2 separate regions of the Homo sapiens genome follow, and region 1 is linked to region 2. The links are contacts of gene promoters, found by promoter capture Hi-C in blood cells and fetal thymus (Javierre and others, 2016). All regions are on one chromosome and are shown on one strand. The core of a region is centred on a gene start or on the middle of the fragment in contact, and the rest is flanking DNA. Distances in the headings are between cores, read along the strand shown.

Region 1 (3,009 bases), core at 340-2,839, 230 kb before region 2:
TTCCCCCTCCAGGATCCCTTTAAATCCAAACAACAGTACTAATTCGAGAAGTGGCTGTGATTCTCCCTGTGTTCCAGATAAGGAAACTGAGGTCCTGGTCAGCAGAGGGAGTTGCCCACAGTTGTCACAGAGATTGCAGCAGTGGGGGGCAGGCAGCCGGGCTGGTGGGACTGGCTGGATAGCAGAGCTCTCCTGTCCCACCTGACCACCATTCAGCCTGTTCTCTCCTGACCCTGCCCCAGAACAAACTATCCTACCGTCCACCAGTGCCATTCCCCACTGTCTGAAATTTTTCTTCTTTTAATTTTGCTTGTTACTAGCAGAAATCACATGATTGGATTTCTTGCTTATTATCCATGTCTCACACAGAAGTGTCAGCTCCAAGAGGGCAGGAACTTTGTCTTTTGTGTTTACTGACAAATCCTCAATGCCCAGGCAGGTCCTCAGAAAACACTTGCAGAATTATTTGATCCTCTTCCAAGGGGACAAATGAAGCCTGGTGCCAGCTGTGATGCAGTGCCCCATACCAGCCAGCAGATGGCAGCAGAGAACAAGGCACCTGACCGGTGGAGCCCAGGTGAAGTGCGCAGGTTTGACCTTCAAGGTTGGCAAAAGAAGGGGAGCTTCTGGCTGTGTGTGTTGCGGGGGAGCGGGGGGGGGGGAGGGGAATGGGGGTTGGGGGTGGTGGTTGGGGGTGGTGGTGGTGGTTATGCATCTTTTTGCACCTTCTCCCCCTAACCACTGGCCAGGCCTAAGGATCCCAATCTGCTGGAAGGCAGCCTTTTCTAGTAAAATACAAAAACAGCTATCATTGATTAAGCACAAAATTAAGCCAAATACATTGTTTCATTCTCACAACAGCCCTATTATTAGCCTCATTCTGCAGACCGGAAACTGAGGCGCCATAACATGCCCCAGGTTACACAGCCAGTGAGGCACCAAGACTGGAAGGTGACCTGGGACCCATTCCTGTCACCACCATGAGATAGGGCCTCCAAGCTTCTGTTGCTCTATGGTGGACTTGGGGGGGCTGCCCAGGAGGAGGTGAGCTCCTCATTGCCGGAGATGTGCAAACTGTGCCTGGTAGGCGTCTGCTGGAGAGGATGTACGGGCACCCAGATGCCCAAAGCCACTCCTGGCCAGGCAGGACCCAGAGCAAAATGAAGTGTGGGAATGTCCGCTCCAGAATTACTAAGAATTTCAACACAATGACAGGAGAGTATTAAGCCAGGGGCAGGACCCTTCTGAGTTCCAGGGTCTGTGTGACCACACAGGTCCAATGCCCTCCAAGCCAGATCTTTTGGATCGGAGGAAGAAGTGTGAGGAATGGGTCTCAGGGTCATCTCAAGGTCAGTACCATGCTAGGGGCCTGAAGGGATGGGCCTTGTGAAGTCAATGGGATGGAGAAGACAAGGAGTGGACTCGAGTCCCCTCCAGTCCGAGTTAGGAAGCCCGTGGAGACGTCAGCAGTCCAGCTCTGCAGGAGTTCAGGGAAACGTCCCCTGCGCACATTTCTTCTCGTAAGACAGGGCTTGCATCCCCGCACCTTTTATCTTTCCCTGCTGCCTGTGATTTATCTCCACGTGAAGGGCTGGGGCGGCCTCGGAGGCAAAGGGCCCTTCTGATGGTCCATGAATCTTTCCTTTGCCGATCCTCTGGTCACTCTCTGCGCGGCCAGGCGGGCCCACCACTTCCTCTCTGCCAAGTGAGGATTAGGGAGTCATAAAACAAGGAAGCCAAACCCCTGGCCAGCAGAGCGCACACATGGGCCTCAGATGCCGGCAGAGACATGAGGGCTGCCGGGACTTGAGCCTCAGAGGAGGACTCCTTCTTTGGGGGCCGCTATTCCCAGGTCCCTGCTCCATGGGGGGACTCCCTGGCCAAGCCTGGGGTCAGAGCTGGTCAGGACCACTCCTAAGGGGAGAGAAGGTCCCAGCTGAAGCCAGAAGTGGTCCCGGCCCACACCAGGGGGAGAGGGGCTCCAGGCTGAACGGAGTGTGCGGGCGGCCCTCAGAACGGGGGAGCACCCGCCATGTGCCGGGCACCAAACGCATGTCATTCTCATTCCCCCCAGGGCTGCCATCCTGGGGCTCCTGGGGAGAAGCCCCTTGCCAAGGCCCAGAGCCAGGAAGTGGTGGGGGCTGGGATCTGAACACAGGTGAATAGACAACAAAGCTTTACACCAAAGAAAAATAGTAAAACCATTATATTGGAAAAACAGGTGATTTATTCCCTAAATGTTATCTTTTTTAAAATCCTATTATAGGCCGGGCGCGGTGGCTCATGCCTGTAATCCCAGCACTTTGGGAGGCCGAGGCGGGCGGATCATGAGGTGAGGAGATCGAGACCACCCTGGCTAATACGGTGAAACCCCGTCTCTACTAAAAATACAAAAAATTAGCCGGGCGTGGTGGTGGGCGCCTGTAGTGCCAGCTACTCGGGAGGCTGAGGCAGGAGAATGGCGTGAACCTGGGAGGCGGAGCTTGCAGTGAGGTGAGTTCGTGCTACTACACTCCAGCCTAGGTGACACAGCAAGACTCCTTCTCAAAAAAAAAAAAAAAAAAAAAAATCCTATTATAAAAAGCATGTGGTACAGAATTCAAAAGTGGTATAAAATAAGATAATAAGGCTTTGAAGTGTCTGTCTTCCTCTCTTTCGCTCCCCTGTTGTCCACAGGTCCCTGGCCCCTCCCAAGAAGCAACCACTGATACCGGGGACTTAGAGATTTCCAGAGAGAGTCTACAGGTTGCAAATACCTGCTATTTCTTTTTTTCTCTTCTATATAAATGGTAGCATTCCGTGGACAATACCTGCACCTTACTTTTTTTTTTTTTTTTTTTTTTGAGACGGAGTCTCTCTCGTCACCCAGGCTGGAGTGCAGTGGTGCCATCTAGGTTCACTGCAGCCTCTGTCTCCCAGGTTCAAGTGATTCTCCTGCCTTAGCCTCCCAAGTAGCTGGGATTACAAGCGAGAGCCACCACACCCGGCTAATTTTTGTAGTTTTTTCGT
Region 2 (3,174 bases), core at 496-2,995:
AGGAAACTGAAACTCAGAAAAGTTCAATAATTTGTCCAAGGGCACAAAGTAAGTAGGAAAGCCAAGACTTAAGCTGAGGGCTAATTCTAAACTCCCTGCACATAACCATGGCACAACATTCCAGTTGGAAGTGGTAAAAGGTCCCTAGCAGGATGGAGACAGGGCAAGAAAAATGCCTTGAACCTAAATTAGGAGTGTGACCTAAAGCCTAGAAGGAAGGAATGAAAAATATGGATTACAGAAGGTAAGTTTAGGTTTAAATGAACCAGTAATCGCCACGTCAACTGCTTCCCATGGGGCTTGGAGCCCGGGTCCCAAGCAGAAGCCTCATCTCTCTGAGGCCCTATTTAAAGATTCTGAGCATGGTACAGTATCTCCAAGGACCCCACATGATTTCTAACAAGCAAGAAAGGTGTCACCATCTACTGTAACTAAACATCCTAGCACATTGAGTTTTTCAGTTAGTCAAGGCTTCACAGAGCTTATTTTTTAACTCTCTAAGCTTTCCTGGTGCCGCTGATAAGATTTCCCAGCCCTGTTAAAACGAGATGAGATCCAGCCAGCTGTCGAGAAATGTACAATGAGATTATACTGAGAAGGAACCACGAGAGACAAAGGCCCCTAAGAGGAGCTGGTCTGCTGTCTGCTTTTGTGGCAGCAATCGGAGTGGGCTCTGGTTCTTGGGTGGGGGCAGGAAGCAGGGAAGGGGCAACCACCATTTGCCTTTTGCCCTCCTGTGGTCTTCCTCAGTGCCTTGTGCAAGAGGTGTTGAGGGGCAGGGAACAGAAGAGTCTCATCTTTCATGGTGAGAAGGGCTGCTGATTTAGAACAGTTGTGTGTTGGTAACAAAGAGGACAAAAGATGCTCTTGGGTCTACCCCGTTCCCTGGTGCCTGCCTCTGAGGATGTGATGTCCCCTGGTGCCATGCCTCAGCTCTTGTCCCAGCCCCTGCTCCTCCCGTCTCGCTGGTGTTGGAGTCACTGTAGGGTGCTCGACGTGCCCACCATGTTCCTGGATGGGTGCTCTGGGTCTCGGGTACCCAGGCTGGGCATGTCACCTTCCAGACAGGTGCCTGAGGGTTTAGGTGTCCTCTCTGCTGTGCCCAGGTCACAGAGGCAGTGATGCTCCTGGGGCAGGTGCACGTTGGTCTGCACCCACGTGACCAGAGAGAGCAGGACCCCAGGCCAGGCCGGTCAAACGATTGACTGTTCCCAGTCTGTGCCCAGGTGGGCCGCCTCCCTCTCACGCGGGCAGAGGTGGCTCTCGGCGCCCCTCACCTGCCCGGGCCTTGGGGGCGCTGCTGGCACTCGGGTCCCCCAGCTTCTCCCGCCTCTCGCCGCCAGGCCGAGCCCGGGCACCGGCAGCCGCGGCGCGCTCGGGGCTCTGCAAAGGCCGCCCGGGCCTGTCCCCGCCGCGGGCCGGGCACGGAGCCCGCAGGCCTCGGCGCGGCCCGGCTCCTCCCGTCCGCCCGCCCCTCGGCCGGGGGCCCGCGCCCGCCCGCCCGCCCTCCCGGCTGCAGGGCCGGCTCCGCCGAGCCTCCGCGGCGCCCGGGCCTCACTTAACTGTTCCCCGCTGGGGCGGCGGCGGCGGTGGCTGCGGCGGCGGCGGGTCCCGGCTCCGTCTCACGCAGAAGCAGCTTCTCATCGCCCGGGCGGCGCGGGAGGGGCCGGGCCCGGGGCCCAGGCGGCAGGAGCCGGCGCCGCAGCTCGAGCGCGAGCCTCACCGAGAGCGGCGGCGGCGGCGGCGGCGGCGGAGGGGCGGGGCGCGGCCTGGCGGCGGCGGCGACAACGGCAGTGGCGGCGGCGGCTCCCTCCGCGGGCCGCGGCGGCGGGCCGGGCTCCGGGCCTCCCGGCGCTGGCGCTGGTTCAGGATCGGGGGAGGCGCCCGGCGCCCGAGGCTGGCTCGGGCGGGAGGAGGGAGAGGGAGCCCTGGCGTCCCGAGCCCGCGCCGCCGCCCCGGCCGGCACCCCGCCTCCCCAGCCTCCCCCTCGACCCAGCCCGTCAGCCGCAGGCAGGGCCCCGGTGCGCCCACCCGGGCCTCCCCGAGCCCGCCGGCGACCCCAGTCCAGCCTCAGGCCCCCGGGAGCCCACGGCCTCTAGAGCCTGGGGCATCGATGGTCCCCGCCCCCAGGCTGGTCTTTTCCAGGGACCCTCAGCCCACTTAGCTCTCGTAGGCCTCGCTGTACGCAAGACCGGTCTTCCGCTCGGCTGCAGATCCCTGGAAGCCCCCAGGCCCTCAGGCTAGAAGTTGGACCCTTCTAAGGACTCTCCGCCCACCCAGCCATTCTAGGCTTCACTGAACCCTAGAATCCTTCAGCTCATCTTCCCCCACCCCCCAGCTCACCTAAGGTGAGCTCAGCCAGTCGTCTCAAACTAACCCCAATTGCCTAGCAATTCTCTTATATTAGTTAGATGATTTATCCCCAGAAGCCTAGAATCAGGTTTATGGGGCCAGCCTCAGGCAAGCATCTAGAAGAAGTTTTTAGCAGGAGTCCTACCCTGCAGTACTTGGGGAAGGCATAAGCCAAGGATAAAATGGAGCTGGATGGTTGGGGGAGGGTCCAGAGCTTGACCCTCAGCTAGAGTGGCTGGTAGGAAAGGCGGACTCTGCGCCTTAACCAACCATGCCCCCCACACCGCCCAGCCAGGCACCCCAGGCAGAGGCCAGCGTGTGCAAGATTTGAAAGGTTTCCTGCCAGGAGGCTGGAGCATTCGTTAGGACTTGAGGACCATGCAGGAGTGATCAGCATTGATTTGCTAATGCATTGAGTCTCATTTTCACACATTCTAGGCTTTTCCATAATAGCTGTTTGATCCTAAAGAGAAGGGTGCCAAGCAGAATGGGCTGTCGGGGGAAACATCCTGTAGGGAAGCCATGCACGTGTGCATTCCCAGTGTCTTCACTACTCAGAAATGCCATGGGTTCAGATGGCTTTACAGCAAGCCTTATCCTCCCATCAGGGCACAGATCATCCCTATGTTACTTAAACTGTTACACAGGAAAAAATAAACAAAAGAAACAAAAATTTTTATTTCATTTCCCAAGTTTAGCATAACCCTGATACCAAAATCCAACAGACAATACCAAAAAGAACTGCAGATGACTAACCTAGAACACGAGTCCCCAGAGAATTTAATATTTATTTTTTGAAAATGGGCTTCTGTGGGCAACTTG

What was found. Contacts are between HindIII fragments. The CHiCAGO score rates a contact against its expected background, and 5 or more counts as called.
Region 1: a fragment that was not itself captured here is called in contact with the fragment with the promoter of MVB12B in region 2 in 3 of 17 cell types (total CD8 T cells, naive CD4 T cells and naive B cells); the score reaches 7.1 in total CD8 T cells.

The regions. Positions count from the first base shown.
Region 1 is chr9:126,555,754-126,558,762 of GRCh38, reverse strand. No RefSeq gene overlaps it. Among named protein-coding and RNA genes, the nearest start is that of LMX1B-DT, 57 kb to the left of the region's middle. RefSeq lists an enhancer at 1,301-1,877. The HindIII fragment of the contact is 1,176 bases long and covers 1,002-2,177 here.
Region 2 is chr9:126,325,400-126,328,573 of GRCh38, reverse strand. It overlaps MVB12B (multivesicular body subunit 12B), which reads right to left and starts at 1,745. Exons shown (of 10, transcript NM_033446.3): 1 at 1,564-1,745. The coding sequence starts at 1,644. RefSeq lists an enhancer at 528-1,179 and a silencer at 1,621-1,760. The HindIII fragment of the contact is 4,126 bases long and covers 505-3,174 here.